7 separate regions of the Homo sapiens genome follow, and all the other regions are linked to region 3. Evidence: promoter capture Hi-C in 16 types of primary human blood cells and fetal thymus (Javierre and others, 2016). All regions are on one chromosome and are shown on one strand. Each heading gives the region's core, a stretch centred on a gene start or on the middle of the fragment in contact. The rest is flanking DNA. Distances are from core to core; before and after follow the strand shown.

What was found. Contacts are between HindIII fragments. The CHiCAGO score rates a contact against its expected background, and 5 or more counts as called.
Region 1: a fragment that was not itself captured here is called in contact with the fragment with the promoter of RESF1 in region 3 in 1 of 17 cell types (naive B cells); the score reaches 5.1 in naive B cells.
Region 2: a contact is called between a fragment that was not itself captured here and the fragment with the promoter of RESF1 in region 3, in 7 of 17 cell types (total CD4 T cells, non-activated CD4 T cells, activated CD4 T cells and 4 more). The highest score is 9.9, in total CD4 T cells.
Region 4: a contact is called between a fragment that was not itself captured here and the fragment with the promoter of RESF1 in region 3, in 2 of 17 cell types (total CD4 T cells and naive CD8 T cells). The highest score is 7.7, in total CD4 T cells.
Region 5: a contact is called between a fragment that was not itself captured here and the fragment with the promoter of RESF1 in region 3, in 6 of 17 cell types (endothelial precursors, total CD8 T cells, naive CD8 T cells and 3 more). The highest score is 7.9, in endothelial precursors.
Region 6: a fragment that was not itself captured here is called in contact with the fragment with the promoter of RESF1 in region 3 in 1 of 17 cell types (non-activated CD4 T cells); the score reaches 8.1 in non-activated CD4 T cells.
Region 7: a fragment that was not itself captured here is called in contact with the fragment with the promoter of RESF1 in region 3 in 1 of 17 cell types (neutrophils); the score reaches 7.7 in neutrophils.

Annotation. Positions count from the first base shown.
Region 1 is chr12:31,389,733-31,392,697 of GRCh38, forward strand. It overlaps DENND5B (DENN domain containing 5B), which reads right to left. Exons shown (of 21, transcript NM_144973.4): 18 at 2,882-2,964; 19 at 2,535-2,661. Among named protein-coding and RNA genes, the nearest start is that of LINC02387, 22 kb to the left of the region's middle. The HindIII fragment of the contact is 2,331 bases long and covers 449-2,779 here.
Region 2 is chr12:31,314,962-31,317,972 of GRCh38, forward strand. All of the region lies in intron 1 of SINHCAF (SIN3-HDAC complex associated factor), which reads right to left. Among named protein-coding and RNA genes, the nearest start is that of FLJ13224, 7.8 kb to the right of the region's middle. The HindIII fragment of the contact is 2,530 bases long and covers 95-2,624 here.
Region 3 is chr12:31,957,943-31,961,015 of GRCh38, forward strand. It overlaps RESF1 (retroelement silencing factor 1), which reads left to right and starts at 1,473. Exons shown (of 6, transcript NM_018169.4): 1 at 1,473-1,549; 2 at 2,835-2,929. LOC105369725 (a long non-coding RNA gene) reads right to left here and starts at 1,362. Exons shown (of 2, transcript XR_931503.2): 1 at 1,186-1,362; 2 at 551-862. RefSeq lists an enhancer at 1-391 and a silencer at 1,444-1,783. The HindIII fragment of the contact is 2,403 bases long and covers 685-3,073 here.
Region 4 is chr12:32,746,192-32,749,425 of GRCh38, forward strand. It overlaps YARS2 (tyrosyl-tRNA synthetase 2), which reads right to left. Exons shown (of 5, transcript NM_001040436.3): 5 at 353-1,172. The coding sequence ends at 1,013. Among named protein-coding and RNA genes, the nearest start is that of YARS2, 8.1 kb to the right of the region's middle. The HindIII fragment of the contact is 1,542 bases long and covers 802-2,343 here.
Region 5 is chr12:32,671,755-32,674,931 of GRCh38, forward strand. No RefSeq gene overlaps it. Among named protein-coding and RNA genes, the nearest start is that of DNM1L, 6.0 kb to the right of the region's middle. RefSeq lists an enhancer at 2,440-3,177. The HindIII fragment of the contact is 2,090 bases long and covers 452-2,541 here.
Region 6 is chr12:31,298,559-31,301,646 of GRCh38, forward strand. The region is part of intron 1 of SINHCAF (SIN3-HDAC complex associated factor); the gene reads right to left. Among named protein-coding and RNA genes, the nearest start is that of FLJ13224, 24 kb to the right of the region's middle. The HindIII fragment of the contact is 557 bases long and covers 1,166-1,722 here.
Region 7 is chr12:32,472,313-32,475,499 of GRCh38, forward strand. The region is part of intron 1 of FGD4 (FYVE, RhoGEF and PH domain containing 4); the gene reads left to right. Among named protein-coding and RNA genes, the nearest start is that of FGD4, 74 kb to the left of the region's middle. The HindIII fragment of the contact is 4,250 bases long and covers 1-3,187 here.

The sequences.
Region 1 (2,965 bases), core at 364-2,863, 570 kb before region 3:
TTACTCCCTTTAAAATACCTTCAGGAAACAGAAACTGGCAAAAAAGAAAACAAAAATAGCATCTTCTGTTAAGACTGGAACCTTCTAGGAGTAACCAGCAATGACACGGTAGCCATTGAAATAATACCCCATGTTCTAGTTACAGAATGACTTGCTAACACTTTGCAACAAGATCCTTGAAATGTACCTGAATAAGTACCTGACAAAGAGAGATATATGTATATACACATGAGAAGCAGAAGCAATAAGATTCTAGGCATTCCAGAAGAAAAAAAAAAAATCACTCCTGGGGGCCTATCTCTGACAACTTTCCTTTTTTTGTCTATTCTAAGTTAGATGAAATAAACTACTTCATCTAGGCCTTATTTAGAAAACACAAAATGATTAATTGCCCATTTAAAGAAACTAGGAATTCTAGAAGAGCTGCATACCAAAAGAAAGATCACAAAGCTTAGCAAGCTAGAACAGAAACACTCCAAAAGAGCTTCCTGTGATGATGAAAATGTTCTCTATCTACAAGGTCCAATTTGGTAGCCACAAGTGGCTCCTGAGCACTTGAAATGTGGCCAGTGTTATTAAGAAAATGAAATTTACATTTACATTTGATTTAAATTAAATAGATTTGGCCAGGCATGGTGGCTCACGCCTGTAATCCCAGCACTTTGGGAGGCCAAGGCGGGCAGATCACCTGAGTTCGGGAGTTCGAGACCAGCCTAGCCAGCATGGTGAAACCCCATCTCTACTAAAAATACAAAAATTAGCTGGGCGTGGTGGCAGGCACCTGTAATCCCAGCTACTCAGGCTGAGGCAGGAGAATTGCTTGAACCCAGGAGGCAGAGGCTGCGGTGACCCAAGATCACACCATTGTACTCCAGCCTGGGCAACAGAGCGAGACTCCATCTAAAACAAACAAAAAAAATTAAATAGATTTAAATTTTAAATGGCTATATGTGGCTAATGGTTACTATACTGGACAACACAGAGCTAGAGGAATCCTTTTACAAAAATTGGCCAGGCACAGTGGCTCACACCTGTAATCCCAGCACCTTGGGAGGCCAAGGCAAGTGGATCACTTGAGGACGGAATTTGGGACCAGCGTGGCCAACATGGCAAAACCCCATCTCTACTAAAAATACAAAAATTAGGGGTGTGGTGGCAGGTGTAATCCCAGCTAATCAGTGGCTGGGGCAGGAGAACCGCTTGAACCCAGGAGGCAGAGGTTGCAGTGAGCTGAGATGGGGCCACTGCACTCCAGCCTGGGCAGTAGAGTGAGTCTCTGTCTCAAACAAACAAACAAAAACGTTCTATCATGTCACTACTTAGCTCAAAACCTTCCAACAGCTTCCAGTTTCATTCAGGATAAAGGCTGAAATCATTCCAATGACCTAGAAGGCCCTACACAACCTGGCACTGGCACTAAACACCCCCTCCCCCAATCTCCTACTTTCTCTCTCTTGCTGTGCTCCAGTCACACTGGGCTTGGAGTTCCATGGAAACACTTCCGCCTTGGGGCTTAGCACTGGCAGTGCTGTCAACCTGGAGTCCCTCCTCCCAGATATCTACATGGCTCACTTCCTCACCTACATGAAGTCTGTGCTCCAATGTACCTTGACATTCAGCAGAATCTAAAACCACCCCATTTGAAAGACCACTCCCCACTTTATTTCCTTTTATACTGCTCTATTTCTTTCCAGATCAATGGTCACATTTCTGACATACCATATGAATTACATATTTGTTATGTTTTTGTGTATTGTTTGTTTCCCACACCGACCTGAGTATAAGTTTGTCAACCATAGGATTTCTGTTTTGTTTACTAATGTATATCTTGAGCAACTCAAATACTATTTGGAATATTGTGCATATTACAATTTGTTGAGTAAATGAAAAACAAAGACAATACTTGATATTTATTTATCATTATTATATACACTTTTTGAGACACGGTCTCACTCTGTCGCCCAGGCTGGAGTGCAGTAGCTTGATCATGGCTGACTGCAGCCTTCACCTCCTAGGCTCCTGGGCTCAAGCGATTCTCTTGCCTCAGCCTCCCAGGTAGCTGGGACCACAGGTATGTGCTACCACACCCAGCTAATTTAATATTTATTTTAAAATATATATATCCTTGCCGGGCACGATGGCTCACTCCTGTAATCCCAGCACTTTGGGAGGCTGAGGCGGGTGGATCACAAGGTCAGGAGTTCAAGACCAGCCTGGCCAATATGGTGAAACCCCTTCTCTATTAAAAATACAAAAATTAGTTGGGCATGGTGGTGCACACCTGTAGTCCCAGCTGCTTGGGAGGCTGAGGCAGGAGAATCATTTGAACCTGGGAGGCGGAGGTTACAGTGAGCCAAGACCGCACCACTGCACTCCAGCTTGGGCAACAGAGTAAGATTCCGTCTCAAAAAAAAAAAAAGAAAAAAAATATATATATCCTTATCACTAACCCTTATTCACTCAGATTCCTGGGTCTTTGAGTTCCTAAGAAAGGCTTCAGTGACCTTAATGTAATACACATCTACTTTATTTACCTATGAAGTCCCAGATGAAGACATTCTTGTGAAAGATGCGGGCAGATTTGAACCCATGGTGGAAAACTTGCTCAAGGGCTGCAACCAGGCCATTTTCTCCACACAGCAACACGGTGAGGCTTCCTCTCTGTGGGGCATAACACACAGTGCCAAAGAAAAATCTCCTGCATCTATGTCTAAAAAAAACACTAGAGAAGCAAGTGCTGAAGGTAGCTATATGAAGCATGTTTTTACAGCTACCAGAAAGCTTACAAATGAAAATTCAAGCACCCCATATTGCCTCGTGTATCACATATAAAAGCATCTTTAAAAGTCCCACTATACTAAGTTTTATAGCCCATAAATACCTCTTTTTCAGGTTTATGAAAATGTTTCACAATATTGTTCACAGCTTCTCCAATTCCTTCTTGTATCTGCCCAGCATTGGGTTC
Region 2 (3,011 bases), core at 110-2,609, 640 kb before region 3:
AGAGGATTTGTTCTCCATAATTTTTAATACCTTCTCATTAGATTGACTAAGTCAGGAGGTGTTCTGAATCTGAATGTGCTGCTTGCAAACACAAAGCTTGAGGATGCGCACCCAGGAAGCACAAGTTCCAGTAGCTTATTACCTGTGCTCTGAAGTAGACTGCATGAGGCACAGTCTTTATATATTTTTTAAACAGGAAAATATGTGCGGTATGGTGAAGCAATAGTTGAGAATTTGGTTCATATTCAGTGATGTTATGCCTAAAGTCAAGTAAATATGTGGTTGAGTGGGTAGAAGAGAAAAGTTAATAATTGTGTAGGCACCTTAGGGTCTGGTGGAAGGATGATTGATTCCATCCTGCCTTTGTTCTGTATCTGATAAACAAGTTTACAACCAGTATCTGTCAGTAAAATATTTAACAAACTCCAGTTACAAACCCAAGGGGTCAGCTTTAGTTTGTAGGCAGTGGTTTAATTATGCATATGTCCAAACTGCAGCCATCTTGGACCAGTTTTATCTTTTCTTCTGACACCATCTATCATCATCTATCTGTCTACAGTATGCTGTCTGAAGTTTCTTCAAATAGGACAAACATTTTGAGAAGTTCCTCAGGATTTGAAAGGTTACAGTTAAAACATGCCTATTTATGGGAGTTTGTAACGCTTATCTCTGACATAGCTGTTTTTGCAATATACACACATTCCTGGGCCAGAAAGAAATTTAGAGGAGGACTGTGTTGATCAGTTTTTTCTTTTATTTGCTTTCACAGGTGTAATAAATGTGTTGCTTAAATTTTAAGTTGTCATTTGTATAGCACTTTACATTTTATAAAGCACTTTCACTGGCATTCTTTCTTTGACTACTATTAGCCAAAAACCCAAAAATTGTTTTAATACTGTAACAGTTAAAAACAATCAACCATGGCCGGGCGTGGTGGCTCAAGCCTATAATCCCAGCACTTTGGGATGCCAAGGTGGGTGGATCACCTGAGGTCAGGAGTTTGAGACCAGCCTGACCAACATGACGCAACCCTGTCTCTACTAAATATAAAAAAATTTGCCAGGCGTAGTAGTGGCAGACGCCTGTAAATCTCAGCTACTCAGGAGGCTGAGGCAGCAGAATTGCTTGAACCCGGGAGGCAGAGTATGCAGTGAGCCGAGATTGTGCCACTGCACTCCAGCCTTGGGGACAAGAGCAAAAATTCATCTCAAAAATAAAAAATAAAAAAAAAACCATGCCATAATTATAGCTCTGACCAAATAAACTGAATATCCCAAAGTTAAAAAAGATTAAAGGTAATAGCTAAGTCAGCAAAAGCAATTTAAAAAGATAACTAATTATATGGACAATATATATAAACAAAAAAATAAAGTTTTAAAACACAACAATCAATTCTAAACATCTGTTTTGGCTGATTTGTAGGGTTTTCTTCTACTTTAAAGCTGTGGGTTTCATATAAATTTAATGATCTTAATGAATCTAACTTAATGAATCTAACCTTGGTGCTGATGAGTCAAGAAAGGGATGAGATAACCACAATATATCAAAGACACAAAAGGGACAATTCTAATCCCATCTAATGAAATTGGGAAGCCAAAGATCAAGAATAACGTCTAATTTTACATCTAATTAAACACATAAGTTTACTGAATATAATAATATACATAGGAAAGAAAAAGAGTTTCACAGCGATAGTTTATATTAAAGACGCTATTTAAGAAAAGTTTTCTGATAAATAAGATTAAAGATTATCTCTTATAAATCTCAGCAATACTAAATACTTGTTCATTTTAAGCTCCAACCAGGAAACAGAATGAAAAATACTGAAATGCAAATTTTAGAGCTTTAGTACCCTTTTTAATATGGAATAGGAGACAGAGAAAAGGTGATGAATTTAATTCAACTATTTTCTTGTCTTTTTAAATCTTTATAAGGGTGTTAACTCACATTTAAGGATATGGAGAGGGTTCTTATTACGATGAATTTAACATATGTTAAGTTCACCTTAGTTGGCATGCATGCTTTGAAGGACATCATTATTTACTCTAACTTCCCCAATTCCACTTTCTAGATTCCTTCTTCTGGCTTTTTTATATATTCAGAAGTAAAGCGTTTTTTAATATTCAAAAGTACCTTTCAAAACTCAGTAATACCACTGGGTGGACTAGATGGAAGAAAATTGAGAGCAATAGTCAAACGTGGTAAATAACAGTTAACTTCACAACTGTCCAAGTCATCTTGGGAACTGAAATTCTGATATGCACAAATTAGGGGAACAACCTCCCAAATGAAACTATCCTTAAGTTTCCAATAAACCAAAACCCTAGCTTCTAATTATCATTTTTTTCTTTCTAAAAATCAACTGGCCTAAGTCTTTAAAAACAAAAAAAAAACACAAGATAGTTGAAGTGACTTAAATGTCAACGAATTTTCAGACTGGTTAAATTATGGTTGAAACACCACAGCACGCTGTTTCAACCTTTAAAGCAAGTTGAACAGTAGTAATACAGTATAATCTCACAGGATGTTTTTAAAATGAGACTGTAACTACACAAACTTCTTTTTAAATTGGTTCTTAAAAATAGTAAATAGTGGTTGCCTCTGAGGAGTACAAGCATAAAAGAAGCTTACTTTCACTTTACTACCTCCTGCTTTTTTTTTTTTAACCAAGAGCATCACTCTCCAATAACCTTGGTTATCAAGACACACCTTAAGAGTAATCTAAAAAAGCACAGAGAGCTTAAATAAACTTCCTCAAAGACATACAGATGGAGAGATACAAATTAGAAAATACACTCCATGGGAGAGACTACGAAATAGACTGGTAAGATCTAAATACACACAGAGCAGAATGGGAAGGAAACTGCAGACAGGAGACAAGCGAAAGATTTGTAAAGTGGGAAGGAAGCAGCAGTGAACAAAGACAAAAAGAACTAAGCAACCAAAGACAACTTTGAAGTGAAGGAGATGCATTTCTTTAGAGCCAAACTAGAAATCATGATGATGGGAAA
Region 3 (3,073 bases), core at 223-2,722:
ATTCTGGCCGGGCGCGGTGGCTCATGCCTGTAATCCCAGCACTTTGGGAGGCTAAGGCGGGCGGATCAAGAGGTCAGGAGATCGAGACCATCCTGGCTAACATGGTGAAACCCCGTCTCTACTAAAATACAAAAAATTAGCCGGGCATGGTGGCGGGCGCCTGTAGTCCCAGCTACTTGGGAGGCTGAGGCAGCAGAATGGCGTGAACCTGGGAGGCGGAGCTTGCAGTGAGCCGAGATCGTGCCACTGCACTCCAGCCTGGGCGACAGAGCGTGACTCCGTCCCCCCCCCAAAAAAGAAAGAATATTCTGTATGTAGTTTTTTTGTTTTGTTTCTGACAGACGCAAACGCACTCTTCTAGTAATGACTAAAGACTTCTTCGTTTAATTCACCAATGAACTAATCTGACAATTTATGTAACAAATAAATTCCTATAAACATAAGCTCCCTTGCCCCTCTCCAGTGGCACAATCTCTGATTTGCCATCCTGGTTGCAACCTTCATTACTAAGTAAACGCTTACGTAAACCTTAATAATGAGATTCGGGCAATATGATTAAATATTGGTTTATTTGAGTGCAAAGTTTGAGGATGGCGACCCGGTAGGACACAGACTCCAAAAGATGGGGGTCAGTGCTTCGAAAGGGAGAAGTTTGAGGGTCGTTTACACAGGCAGGGTCTGGGAAGCTTAACAGGATGTCAACATTTTCCATAGAAGGTTAACGCATAGCAATTTGATTGGTTCAAGGCAGTGTTTCTTTTTGGGAAGGGTCTATTTAACATTCCACATTAAGGATGTAATAGTCAAGCGGTCATTTATCTTATTCAATGCGTATTTTATCTCAGATGCCATCTGGTCTGAGCTGGGAACAAGAAAATAAGGGAGTTAATCTATAACAAAAGGTCGGCAATTAAGAGGTCGTGCTTCGTGATCTGGTCTCCAAAGTCAACTTTCCTCAGGGACTTTCAGAATCCCCAAATAGACTATCCACTTTCTTTCACACTTATTTGCCTCTAACTTGTTGATTTCTTTTTTTTTTTTCTGTTTTTTAAGGGTTAACAATCTCTTGGGTGCACTCTGACTTCCATGCGCTTTATAGAAAAAATTGGTCCTGAGGCCAGCAGCAACAGTCGGTCTCAGGAACTTGTTAGAAATGCACATTTTTCAGCCCCACCCCAAACCTACTGAATCAGCAGTTTTGCTGGTGGTTCTCAATCTCTCTTTAACGTGCCCTCTGGGTGCTGCGGATGCACGCTGAAGGTAGAAGATCGCTGCAGGAGATTTCCGCGTCGGGCAGATGAAAGCGCTCTGCAAGCCCGGGTGTTATCTGCGGGCCGGGTCCGCGGCTTCTCTGGTGGCACTAGGACCGCGGCGGCGCGGCCCTCGCAGCCACCGCCTCGGGCGTGAGGCGGAGCGTAGCTGTTCCTGGATCCTGGGCCTGGCTCCTCGACCCGCCCCTGGAGGCGGACCCCACTTGACTTAAACTCTGGGGCCCGGGAGGCCGCCGGTTTTCTCCCCGCTTGCCGGGGTGGTCCTCTTCCCTTTGTCGGTAAGTGTGAGACGAGCACCCCGAGGTCCCTCCGCCTTCCGGGGTCCGGGCGGGGCGGGGGCCGGGAGCCGGGAGCCAGAGGCACTCGCGGTCCGGGCCTGCGCGCGGCGCAGAGCGCTTTTGTTCTGCGGCAAAGACGCAGTCGCGGGCGGCCCCGGAACCCGGGCCTCGGGCCCCGCCGGCTCGCGCGTCCCGCCGTCCGCCCACCGGAGCTGGGCCGGGCCGCCGCGCTTGCTTCTGCCCGCCGCACCGGGGCCGGCCCTGGGCCTCCGCGGATGCCGAGCCTTGCACCGGAGGGCGGGCCTCGCTGGCTGTTTTCCCTCATTGCCTGGCTCTGCGCGGTAGAGGTCGCGAGTGGCGAAGGCTAGGACGCATTTTGTCGAACTGCGAGGCGCGGCTGGTGAGGCGGGTGGGTATGAGAGCTGCTTATGTTTTTAAGGCTTTCCTGTCGCTGGAGTGAAAAAGAAAAATCTTTTTTTTTTTTTGCTATTTCCCGAGGGTTCTCCTCCTCCCCGGCCCTCTTAAGCCGAAGCCTCCTGGAACAGAATTGCTGTACTGGCATCTATCTCCAAGTGGTCCGCGAACGCTTCTGCGCCGGCGATGGTTTCTGTTCCTCAGCAATAGTTCCTTGAGGCATTTTTAAATGCACAAACGCATACCCATCTTAGGTGTTCTCGAGGGACACGGATTCCCTAAGCAAACGTCCTTAGGGTCCTGAGTTCAGCAGCAAACTTTCGGGGAATCATTTCCGTGAAAACAATTTATTTGTAGTACATCGAGTGCATACTGTCTTAACATAAGGATGTGTATGAGCTTGAGGCGCATTTTCATTTAGTGGCGGGCGGGTGCATTTCAGTAGGCGGGCCGCAGAGCTTGTTTGGGGATTGCATTTTTCTGCTAAATGTGTTAGCTTTAATCATGTTTCAGTCACTGTTAATGTGCATGCATGTTAAGGTTTTAGGTTTTTTCCCCTGTGCAGTCGGATTTTTTTCTGTTTAATATTAATCCAATAAAGACAAGTGCAGAGATAAAGTATTATTGTTTTGCAGTGATACTACAATAGCGGACCTAGAGGAGCGCACATAAATTCTAACTTAAGTGAATGGTATTTTCAGGCCAGACCTAGTTTCTATTTCTGTTACTTAGGACACTTAATAAGAATTCAGTAAACTTAGCATGCTTTCAGTGCAGCCATAAAAGAAAACAGTTTTGCACAGCAGTGTCATATCTAGTAAACACATTAGCATGTGCTCTTTTATTATAAAATGTTTCTTGCTGTCCCTAGGACCAAAGAAGTAAACACTGTGTGGAGAGGGACTGACGTGTTTGGAGGGAAATGGGAATGTACACGATAATTAAAGAGTAAAGTTGTGCTCAACGGTAAGTGTATCACCTCTAAGAAACCCGCCCTGATTTAACCAGGCGGTTATTCACACTCAACTATGGAGTAATTCACCTATTACCGAATAAAATTACTAGCTCAGTGAATCAACATCGGTTTTAAATTAAACTGTGGGTCACAAT
Region 4 (3,234 bases), core at 323-2,822, 790 kb after region 3:
TGAACAGAATTATACTGGAACACAGGCAAGGAACCAGAAAACTGAATTAGAAACTTTCTGAAAAGTCACGTACTGATTTTTGTACTATTATTTGTAAAGAAACTACTTACTGTAATTTCTCAAAGCAACCATGGCCTCATCTAACTTTTTCTCCTTTTTAAGAACTACATTTGCTCTCTGAACTACAAAAAAATCAAATTTCTATTCAAAGTTTCTAATACTAGTTTTCCCATTTCTAATGTGGACACTAGAGGCCCTGATGATTTTATAAACAACTATATAACATTAGTGACATCGGTGCTCCATACCTGATAGAAAAGCAGCTACAATTCCTTTTTTTTTTTTTTTTTTTTGAGACAGAGTTTCACTCACTACTCATGCTGTCTCCCAGGCTGGAGTGCAGTGGCGTGATCTCAGCTCACTGCAACCTCCATCTCCTGGGTTCAAGTGATTCTCGCAGCTCAGCCTCTTGAGTAGCTGGGGTTACAGGTGCCTGCAACCACATCTGGCTAATTTTTATATTTTCAGTAGAGACGGGGTTTCGCCCTGTTGGCCAGGCTGGTCTCAAACTCCTGGCCTCAAGCGATTTGCCCACCTTGGCCTCCCGAAGTGCTGGGATTACAGGTGTGAGCCACCATGCCCAGCCTCACAATTCCTTACACTACCTCTTTTTCATTGTTCCTCATCACTACAAAAAGGAGAGCAGGAAGGGTAAGATAGGAAAGCAGCATTTCTTTCTCTTCTGAAGTATAATTTTAAAAAGAGATTAACCCTGAAAATCATGGTTTTCTATGGTAATCAAGCTTTGTACATCAGAAAATAAAACATCCCATTATTAAACAAATATTTATTAACCGGCCCATAAAAATAATGAAGTTACTCACACTGAGTCCTAGTCCATTCTGTTTTTCTGATTTGCATAAGCAAAGGTCTAAGTTCTGGAGCCAACCCTTCAGAGGTCTTGAGAATGAATGATGGGTAAGTTTATTTGGACAACCAGAAGGACTTTTCATCACAACTGAAGCCATTTTATAATGTAGAAATTTCTTTTTCCTATTTTAAGTAAGGAAAGTCCATTCTTGAGAATATGTTGTCCAACAATTAAAACACTCTCAGGATTTGTTACTTGTTGGTGATTTATGCTGACTCCGCCTTCTGTTATCATTCGATACCTAAAAAATAGAAACGTTTAGTAAGTAGAGAGATCCAATCACTGTTGATCTGTCCCCCAAAAAAGACTGTTTCACTTAGATTTCAGAGGCTCTCCAATTGAGAAGATTTCATTTGGCACTGGACTGTTACCTTCATGTTTGCTCTATTATTAATAGATTCTGCCTCTCTTTACTGCTCTTTGTTTTTTGTTGTTTGTTTTTGAAACACATTCTTGCTCTGTAGCCCAGGCTGGCATGATCTCAGCTCACTGCAACCTCCGCCTCCTGTGTTCTAAGTGATTCTCCTGCCTCAGCCTCCAGAGTAGCTGCGATTACAGGTGCATGCCACCACACCTGGCTAATTTTGTATTTTTAGTAGAGATGGGTTTCGCCATGTTAGCCAGGCTGGTCTCAAACTCCCAACCTCAAGTGATCCACCTGCCTTGGCCTCCCAAAGTGCTGGGATTACAGGTGTGAACCACTGTGTCTGGCCGGAATTTACGCCTTGCAATCTGCTCTTTTAAAGACTCCGTCTCAAGAAAAAAAAAGAAAGACCTAGGAGAAGTTGTTCTAGGAGCACACTGGGTAGGTGAGGGCTGAACATTTCACTGAAAAAAGAGATACTTAAACTGGGAGTGAAGCTACCTTGACAATCAGGGCAGGAAACATGGGAGCAGCTAGAAAGAGGTGAGATCTGAGAAGACAGGGCTACAGCGTGGCTAGATCTTGGAAGTCCTTAAGAAAGAAAAATGGTGGTTTTCTCTCATCTGAATGTTACCAAATAAAATTAAGAAACCACTACTGGACATGGTTTTAAAGATATTTTTATACCTTTATTTTTGGGTAGAGACGGAGTCTCACTACGTCCTTGCCCACACAGATCTTGAACTCCTGGCCCCAAGCAATCCTCCCGCCCTCAGCCTCCCGAAGTGCTGGGATTACAAATGTGAGCCACCATACCTGGCCATGGACATGGTTTTATAAAACTCATCAGTAAAATATTTTCTACTTAAGGCCAGATTCCTTTCTTTTAGGAAGTATTATTTTACGCTGTCTGCTAGTTTCCAGATCATGTTCTATGTTTAATTTAAATGCACCAAACCTATTTAGCTTATATAATATTAAAAAAAAAAATCAGTATTACTTAGAGCCCTGGCTAAATCAGATGTGGTGTCATTTTTAGTAGTGGTAAAGCTTCCAGTATTAGCGAACACACTATAGTAAAGTTCAGAAGAAAACGAAATCTGCTTCCATAGTGAGGAAAATTATTTGTCTCGCTGACATACTACAGGGAAGTATATGACACCAGCCTCAAATTCACTGTGTGTTAAACCAGCAGATGAGGGAATCACTAAGGTGGAGTGGCAGGTGATGCAAAGGGAGACAATGGGTGCTTTTTCCAGGCAGAATAGTCTAGGACTCTTTAGGACACAGGCAAACAATCCAAGACAGTTGAAAGAGAACAACTATAACAAATGTCATTCATAATCATGGCCATGATATGGCCGATAACCATTTGACTTCTGTGTGAACTCCTGCAAAAGAGGCACCTGGGGGTCTTCTGGCTACCCAACACTTTTCCTTCCACCTCACTGTTCATTTAAAAATGGATAAGCATCAATTATATGCTGAATTATTTTTTGTGAAAAACCTTATTTACTCCTTAATACCTCATAACTGATTAATTAAAATATTCTACTCAATTCCTGAATAGAAAATGCAATTCTCAAGGGGATTATTATATAGTTTACAATAATAGTCTTATGACGTTAGTAGGTTAGTGCAAAAGTACTTGCGGTTTTGGCCATTATATGCTCATTTCATTTTCAGAAATTCAGTTAATACTATAGATAGGTTAGGTAACCTTTCCCATCCCCGAATATAAAAAGGATACAGACTATGAGAGGGGCTGTGTTAATCTGTTACATAGGGCCTCTGTTTCTGCATCCCTCTAAAACTGTGACCATATCCCTAAGCCGTACACTGATGCCAGTGTATTTACTGAACATGTCCCTCAAATGCACTTTTCCAGTGTTGGAGGAAAGACTGACTGGGTTAGATATAATAAGAGACAGTATAGGAG
Region 5 (3,177 bases), core at 247-2,746, 710 kb after region 3:
CGCCTATTGTAATCCCAGCTACTTGGGAGGCTGAGGTGGGAGAATCCCTTGAACCCAGGAGGCAGAGGTTGCAGTGAGCTGAGATTGTGCCACTGCACTCCAGCCTGGGCTACAGAGCGAGACTTGATCTCAAAAATAAATATATAAATATAAATAAAATAACTCTATTATCTCAAATAGTTTCTAAAATATGCCACAAATTTTGATGGTAGGAGGATAAAAAGAAGGGCTACGTTCTATTGGGGTGTGGGTGTGGAGCAAAGGGAAGAAATCAGGACCATATCTTAACTCCCAAGTTATTTTGTCGTTAACTGCTCTTAATTGTGTTGTCACACTGCCCTCTCATGGTCCCGTCAGTATCTCACCAGATTCAATTTCTGGCTTCTGAACCATCTGGCCAATTCCACCATCTGCAAACAATTTCCTGCACCTGCTAACAAAGTATGTGTTAAGCTTGAGGCCTGGGGAGTAGCAAATTGATTAAAGCTGTTTACTTTATCATCTTTGCAAAACACGGGCAGTTTCCAAAATATGACAAAGAGGCTTCCCCAACAGAGCTGTATATTTTATATTAACATTAGATCCCCACTAACCGCTATGATTTGAAGGTGCAGATACCGGCATCTTGGCTGTGATTGATGATCAAAATGTTGGCATAAAATGATATTGGACACATGCGATAAAAACAGTCTGACCTTTTCCAAGATCGATTAATTTCCAGTTATTAATTTAATCCAAAATAAACTTCCTCTAATTCGGGATTTTAAGTTAGAACAAAGCCAGGCTACTCCCTAGCTAAGTAACTTGGCATCTATTCTAATGAGGAGTCCTATGCCAAGCCAGACTCATATGTGTTGGTGAGATTTGATTGCCAGTCCTGGTTGCAATTATATCAATTCAGAGCTGCTTAAATCCTTGTTATTCCAGATTTTCCAAATAAAAAAGAAAAGAAAACCCCATATCCAGTAGACTAATATTATGTAACACGCTTCATACGAGGTAGTGGGGGAACCCAGCTAAATAAGATAATCACTTCTGCCCTTCGTGAGCTCACTATTGGTGAAGGGGGAGGGCATGTTAGTGCCATATCCACGGTTCCTCCCTACTCTCCAGCAAAATATACTGCCTGGCTAAGATCCGTATGCCTAACAAGTACTTCATCAATATGTGTTGAATTAATGAAGAAAGGAATAAATACACGAGGCAGAATGTGTAGCGGTTGAGAGTTTGCTGCCGGGCATGGTGGCTCACACCTGTAATCCCAGCACTTTGGGAGTCCGAGGCGGGTGGATCACCTGAGGTCAGGAGTTTAAGACCAGCCTGACCAATATGGTGAAACCCAGTCTCTACTAAAAATACAAAAATTAGCCTGGCGAGGCGGTGTGCGCTTGTAGTTCCAGCTACTGGGGAGGCTGAGACAGGAGAATTGCTTGAACCTGGGAGGCAGAGGTTGCAGTGAGTTGAGATCGCACCACTGTGGCGACAGAGTAAGACTGTTTCAAAAAAAAGAAAAAAAAGGGGGTTTGCCAAAAAGCCCCTTTTCATCCCATCTCTGCCACATACTAGCTGTGTAAATTTACCACTTCACTTCAATCCCTGGAGCCTCCGTTTCTACATCTCTAAACCTACTTCACGAGGCTCTGATAAAATGCTTAGTATAGTGCCTCACATACAATAAGCACTTAAATAATAGTTCAATAATATTGTGTGAAAAGGGCAACAAGGAAAAATGGAGAAATTCATATGGTTAACTATGGGGATTAGAATTCTGATGTTATGTGCTGTACAGCACATGTACATTTAAAAATATGGGAAAGTTGGCCAGGCGCAGTGGCTCATGCCTGTAATCCCAGCACTTTGGGAGGCTGAGGCGGGCAGATCACGAGGTCAGGAGATCAAGACCATCCTGGCTAACATGGTGAAACCCCATCGCTACTAAAAATACAAAAAATTAGCCGGGTGTGGCGGTGGGCGCCTGTAGTCCCAGTTATTCGGGAGGCTGAGGTAGGAGAATGGCGTGAACCCAGGAGGCGGAGCTTGCAGTGAGCTGAGATTGCACCACTGCACTCCAGCCTGGGTGATAGAGCAAGACTCTGTCTCAAAAAAAAAAAAAAATATATATATATATGTATATATATGGGTAAGTTACTGAATTTGGGGAAGTTCTTCAAGGTGAATAAAGAAGTTTATTCTTGCAAACCAATTTATTCCATGAGATAGGAAACATGATCTTTGGAGACATTGACTCACATGCTTACAGTTCTATAACCAGAGAGAGAAAATATTTTTGTTCAAATTCAGGTTAGGAAATTCTCAGAGAAGGATTCTAAATGGTCCTGCAGGTCCATCCCTAGACCAATCACCTTAACCAGGTGCAGTAGGCCCCTCCAATAAGTCCATGTCCTAATCCCTGGAGCCTGTGAACTTTATGTCTCAGGAGAGACTCTGTAGATGTGATTAAGGGTACAGGCCTTGAGACAGGGATATTATCCTGGGTTGTCCAGGTTGGCCAATCTAATGATGGGCCCTTAAACACAGAGAAGCTTTTCTGGGGGTCAGAGGCCTGATGACAGCAGAAGAGTTAAAGAGATGCGACATTGCTGGCTTTGAAGAGGTTGGAAGGAGGTAACCAGCAAGGAATGCAGGGGGCCCCTAACAAAGGCAAGGAGGTGAATTCCCTGCTAGAGGCTTTAGGAGGGTTTGCAGCCCTGGTGACACCTTGATTTTAGTCCAGTGAGACCTGTGTGAGACTACTGAACTATAGAACTGTAAAACAATACTTTTTTTTTTTTTTTGACATGGAGTCTCACTGTGTTGCCCAGGCTGGAGTGCAGTGGCGTGATCTTGGCTCACTGCAAGCTCTGCCTCCCAGGTTCACGCCATTCTCCTGCCTCGGCCTCCCGGGTAGCTGGGACTACAGGTACCCGCCACCACGCCCGGTTAATTTTTTGTATTTTTACTAGAGACAGGGCTTCACCATGTTAGCCAGGATGGTCTCAATCTCCTGAACTCGTGATCCGCCCGCCTCGGCCTCCCAAAGTGCTGGGATTACAGAAGTGAGCCATTGCGCCTGGCCACATTTTTGTTGTTTTAAGCCACTAAAATTGTGGTAATTTGTTAAGGCAGCAATAGGGAACTAATATACTAGAGAAGCAAGGCAGAAACCAGGTTCCTAGG
Region 6 (3,088 bases), core at 194-2,693, 660 kb before region 3:
AGCTGTACACAATTAAGGATGCATCCTTAAATTTAAGACACACCTTTTTATTTTGCACATTTGCATTAACGTGATTCCCCTCTGGGGAAGTTTTGAGCATTTACCATGAATACTATTTGATACTAAGCACACAACTAGCTCACTATGCATCAGCCCATACTACTTTGCCTAATGGGAATTCAGAGGGGATTTCTTCTGTGATAAATGGGAAGTTCTAAGCAGTCAAGTTTGCCCCTGAATTGAAACTGCTGAAGGGAAGATGTAAAATTCACAAAAATCCAAGGTTAGAATTTAATAATAATAATTCCTTATTATCATTAAGACAAAAAAAGAACGAGCTCATGTTGTCTGACCGCTGATCTGCCCCTTAGTTGTTAGAGGTTTGTGGACCTCTTCTACAAGGCTTTGTGCCTGAGAGTAGTAACAGTGGGAGGCAAATGTCCCAGAGACGTAGAGTGAAATAAATTGCAGTCCTCCTGTTAAAAAAAAAAAAAATCTCAACGTCAAGGAAGGAATGAAAACAGCTCTGGGGCTGGATGCAAATATGTAGCTGGCAGTAAATCTGTACCTTAGGAAAAGTAATTTGGAATATCCAAATCAAGGGCCAGCTCACCAAAACAACCGGACTAAGAGAGGTGATGAAAAGGCAATGAATATAGAAACTAAACTCCAATGGACAAGTCAGAGGATGTGTGTATGTATGAGGGTCTAACTATAAATTATCACAAAATTATCACATAAAGCAACAATAAAAGAAAAAAATTTTTTTTTTTTTGGAGACAGAGTCTCACTCTTTCACCCAGGCTGGAGTGCGGTGGCGCGATCTAGGCTCACTGCAAGCTCTGCCTCCCAGGTTCAAGTGATTCTCCTGCCTCAGCCTCCCTAGTAGCTGGGACTACAGGTGCCCGCCACCACACCCGGCTAACTTTTTGTATTTTTAGTAGAGACAGGGTTTCAGCATGTTAGCCAGGATGGTCTCGATCTCCTGACCTTGTGATCCACCCGTCTCGGCCTCCCAAAGTGCTGGGATTACAGGCGTGAGCCACCGTGCCCGGCCAAGAAAATTATTAATATCACTTTCGTGTCCATAGTTTTAGGAGTTATTACCACAGAACACTATCTTTTTAAAGTTGTTTTAGAAATAAACTTAGATGAGTAAACCTAAAGCTTCAGTACAGTCATGTGTTGCTTAACAATGGGGACACATTCTGAGAAATGCATCATTGGGCATCCTTGTGCAGACATCAGTGTCCTCACATAAACCAAGATGGCAATAGCCTACAACACCCCTAGGCTATATGGGATAGCCTACTGTTCCAAGGCAACAAACTTATACAGCGTGTGACGGTACTGAATGCCGTGGGCAACTGTAATACAATGGTAAGAATCTGTGCATCTAAATATAGAAAAGGTACAAAAAAATATGGTATCATAATCTTTTGGGACCACCATCATATATGCAGTCTGTGGTTGACCGAAACGTCCTTGTGTGACATATGGCTGTATTTGTCTTTGGATTATCTCGTCTGATCCCATTCCATTCCAATTCTGGTTAGTATAATATAGCAAGTATTAATGAAAATGATTCAGAACCAAATATCCAGGCTTTTTATGTGTATTTTTTTGGTATTGAGGGGTTTTGAAATATAGACAGAGGTTTTACAACTTTTAAAAGAAAATTTTTTTAAAACTTTTATTAGCAAATAATTAGCTAAAAACTGAAGCTTCCCTTTCAAACAGGCTATTGTTAATAAACTGTTCCTCTGCCATGTTTTTGTTGGTGAGAGAGGCAGGCAAAAGAGTGGGATGGGGGCAAGGCAGAAGGCCTTCATGCATTTCAATAATTAAGTCTAAACAGTTACCTCTAAGAACTGTTTTAAAAAAAACATTTTTAGTTGATAATAATTTTAGTTAAATGCTTGGGAATTTGATGTCTTTGAGAGGAAGAAAAATGAGGAAGTACCCTCTACACAGTCATAAGAAAAGATCTAGAGAGGCCTGCTCAAATGAGGCAGATTTTTTTTTCTCAATCCAACAACAAACCCATATGATAACTGAAAAGAAAATCCTGAAGAAAATGGTCGCATGTTGCTTTGGAAAAAACAATGTCAAATGACAGAAGATTGCAGAAACAAGAAAGCAGAGTAGCAGTTATTGCTTTAATTTGTGTATTCCTGTTTTAAGGCAAAATGTTAATACGGCCCTCGTCCTCACACCACCCTGCGCTCTTCTCCAAACTCGCCCAACAGCTTGCATTACCATCAAGAAGGTCAGAGAACAGTTCCTCTAATACTCTCCAACTTCATCCATAACTCTTGGAAACTTCAGCCTCCCTTCTCAGCAAGGACAAAAGAAGCAGAGCAAAAAAGGCCAGTTCATTCCATTAATACACAGACCAAATCCTATTACGACAGACAGATTCCTATCTCTACCCTCACCATCTCTTTCCCTTCCCCCAAATAAACAAGTCCTCAAAGCTATCAGCATTCAGCTCATCTCTAGGATGTGAACTACCTTCACTGAGGTTGGATTTGACCAAGACGCCATAGTTTGTGCCAGTTACCACACTGCTAAGCTGTTAAGGATGTTAGGGTTATAGGTGAATATTGAGGCTTTCTTTTTAATCAGCAGCCATTGTGAATTAAGTGTTCCTCTTCAATGATTTTTTTCTGCTGGTGGGGACCTCCACAAAACTTACCCAGCACCCCTAGCAAGACATTCCAGTCATAAGCTGAGGAATATTCTTCTTAGACATAGGGGAGAATAGGCTGATGTCTTAGGATTCATAATCCATTTTCATATAGTTCCGTGACCTTACTTTTGTCCTGACAAAATTATTCTGCCTGAACATCTGAGAGGGATCTAAATCCTAGGGCTTACCCTCTCCTAGGCAATGCTCAGTGAGAAATGCAATGAGGTGGCAGACACCTGTCCTTATGCAACACACAAGGAGCATGTGAACCTTTTAATGGATGACAACTTAATAAACCTATTAAGCCTTTTCTGAGCTTATCCTCACACTTAAGAGGCACCTGGGAATCTGCAGCAAATACACAGGGGTTTCATTTCGGGCTTTGTTTACAACAAC
Region 7 (3,187 bases), core at 163-2,662, 510 kb after region 3:
GGGCTGCGTGTGGCGCTTGCGGGCCAGCTGGAGTTCCGGGTGGGCGTGGGCTTGGTGGGCCCCGCACTCGGAGCAGCCAGCCAGCCCTGCTGGCCCCGGGCAATGGGGGACTTAGCACCCGGGCCAGTGGCTGCGGAGGGTGTACTGGGTCCCCCAGCAGTGCTGGCCCACCGGTGCTGCGCTCAATTTCTCGCTGGGCCTTGGCTGCCTTTCCACGGGGCAGGGCTCGGGACCTGCAGCCCGCCATGCCTGAGCCTCCCACCCACTCCATGGGCTCCTGTGTGGCCCAAGCCTCCCGGACGAGCACCACCCCCTGCTCCACGGCGCCCAGTCCCATCGATCACCCAAGGGCTGAGGAATGCGAGTGCGGGGCGCAGGACTGGCAGGCAGCTCCACCTGCAGCCCCGGTGCGGGATCCACTAGGTGAAGCCAGCTGGGCTCCTGAGTCTGGTGGGGACGTGGAGAGTCTTTATATCTAGCTCAGGGATTGTAAATACACCAATCAGCATCCCGTGTTTAGCTCAAGGTTTGTGAGTGCACCAATCGACACTGTATCTAGCTGCTCTGGTGAGGACGTGGAGAACCTTTATGTGTAGCTCAAGGATTGTAAATATACCAATCGGCACTCTGTATCTAGCTCAAGGTTTGTAAACACACCAATCAGCACCCTGTGTTTAGCTCAAGGTTTGTAAATGCACCAATCGACACTCTGTATCTAGCTGCTCTGGTGGGGCCTTGGAGAACCTGTGTGTCCAAACTCTGTATCTAACTAATCTGTTGGGGACGTGGAGAACCTTTGTATCTAGCTCAGGGATTGTAAACGCACCAATCAGCACCCTGACAAAACAGGCCACTGGGCTCTACCAATCAGCAGGATGTGGGTGGGGCCAGATAAGAGAATAAAAGCAGGCTGCCCGAGCCAGCATTGGCAACCTGCTCGTGTCCCCTTCCACACTGTGGAAGTTTTGTTCTTTTGCTCTTTGCAATAACTCTTGCTACTGCTCACTTTTTGGGTCCATGCTGCTTTTATGAGCTGTAACACTCACCGCGAAGATCTGCAGCTTCACTCCTGAGTCCAGCGAGCCCAGGAGCCCACTGGGGGGAAGGAACAACTCCAGACGCGCCGCCTTAAAAGCTGTAACACTCACCGCAAAGGTCTGCAGCTTCACTCCTGAGCCAGCGAGACCACGAACCCACCAGAAGGAAGAAACTCCGAACACATCTGAACATCAGAAGGGACAGACTCCAGACGCGCCACCTTAAGAGCTGTAACACTCACCGCGAGGGTCTGCGGCTTCATTCTTGAAGTCAGACCAAGAACCCACCAATTCCGGACACACCTGGGTGCAGCTCATCTCAAACTGAAGACCTATGAATTAAAAGCACACGTTATTTTCCGTTCTTCCCCACTTTCCACCCCAACATATAATGGTAAGGCAGGGACAGGAAAATTACATCAGATATTCCTCTTCAAAAAGATATTAGGAGCTGTGGACCGGGCGCGGTGGCTCATGCCTGTAATCCCAGCACTTTGGGAGGCTGAGGCGGGCAGATAACGAGGTCAGGAGATCGAGACCATCATGGCTAACATGGTGAAACCCTGTCTCTACTAAAAAATACAAAAACTTAGCCGAGCATGGTGGTGGGCGCCTGTAGTCCCAGCTACTCGGGAGGCTGAGGCAGGAGAACGGCGTGAACCCAGGAGGCAGAGGTTGCAGTGAGCTGAGAGCGCGCCACTGCACTCCAGCCTGGGTGACAGTGCGAGACTCTGTCTCAAAAAAAAAAAACAAAAAGTATTCGGGGCTGTGGAGAAATCAGAGCCCTGACACACTGCTGGTAGAAATGTAAAATGGTACAGTTGCTTTGGAAAACAGTCTGGGTAGTTCTTTGAAGGTTAAACATAGAGTTGCCATATGACCCAGCAATTCTGTACCTAGACATATACTCAAAAGCAATGAAACCATAGTTCCACAGAAAACCTTGTACATGAATGTTTATAGTTGCAATATAATAGCCAAAAGGTGGAAACAACTCAAATGTCCAGCTGATGAATAGGTAAATAAAAAGTGATATGCCTGTATACTGGCATTCTTTTGGCTGTACGAAAGAATAAAGTACTCCTACCTACAACATGGATGAATCTTAAAAATGTACTAAGTGAAAGAATCCAGTCACAAAAGACCATGTGTTGTATGCTTCCATGTATATGAAATGTCCCAAAGAGCCAAATCTATAGACAGAAAGATTAGCGTTGCTTAGGCTGGGAGGGCTGGAATGGGGGAAGGTGATAGCTAAAAGGTATACGGTTCTTTTTGGGTTGGGAGAGGTGGCTCATGCCTGTAATCCCAGCACCTTGGGAGGCCAAGGTGGGTTGATTGCTTGAATCCAGGAGTTTGAGAATAGCCTGGACAACATGGCGAAATTTCTACAAAAAATACAAAAATTTGCCAGGCATGGTGTCGTGTGCCTGTAGTCCCAGCTACTCGGAGGCTGAGGCAAGAGGATCGCTTGAGCCCAGGAGGTTGAGGCTGCGGTGAGCCGTGATTGCACCCCTGTACTCCAGCCTGGGTGACAAAGCCAGACCCTATCTCCAAATTAAAAACAAATTTATTTTTGGTGTGATGAAAAGGTCTAAAATTGATGGCGGGTATATGTATCTGTGAATATAGTAAAAACCTTGCCATTGTAAACTTATTTAAACAGAAAAAAGCAGCAGATGTGACTGGGAGGCACATGACCTTCACTGGTGCATAGCATTTCTGACATTTAGCTCGATCTATATCCTTGTTGAGGAACTAGTTCACTACCTGGGTGCCTCTCTTTGGCCCTCATCTCCATCCCCTAGGCTCTTGGCTGTCTTCTGATTCTTTTCCACAAGAAATGGCCTGTGTTTTTTGGCGTCTTCCTGTCCGAGTAGGGTGCTAGTATTTTTCATTTTTAACTGGCTCTATTAGTCCAAGCTGATGGTGTTTCCACTGGTATATTTCTCTGAAATGCCTTTTGGGTTTTACCATAGATGTCTTAGGGGTTCACAACATTAGGTAAAAAATACTCCCACAAATCGTTTTAAGATAGGGCTTTCTTTACCTTGGATGCCTTTGTATCAGACTGTCATGTGAAAATAACCTTTTATTGTCAAAAGCTCTACTGTCTGGTTTAGTTGGTACTCAAAGCACCCACTTAAGAT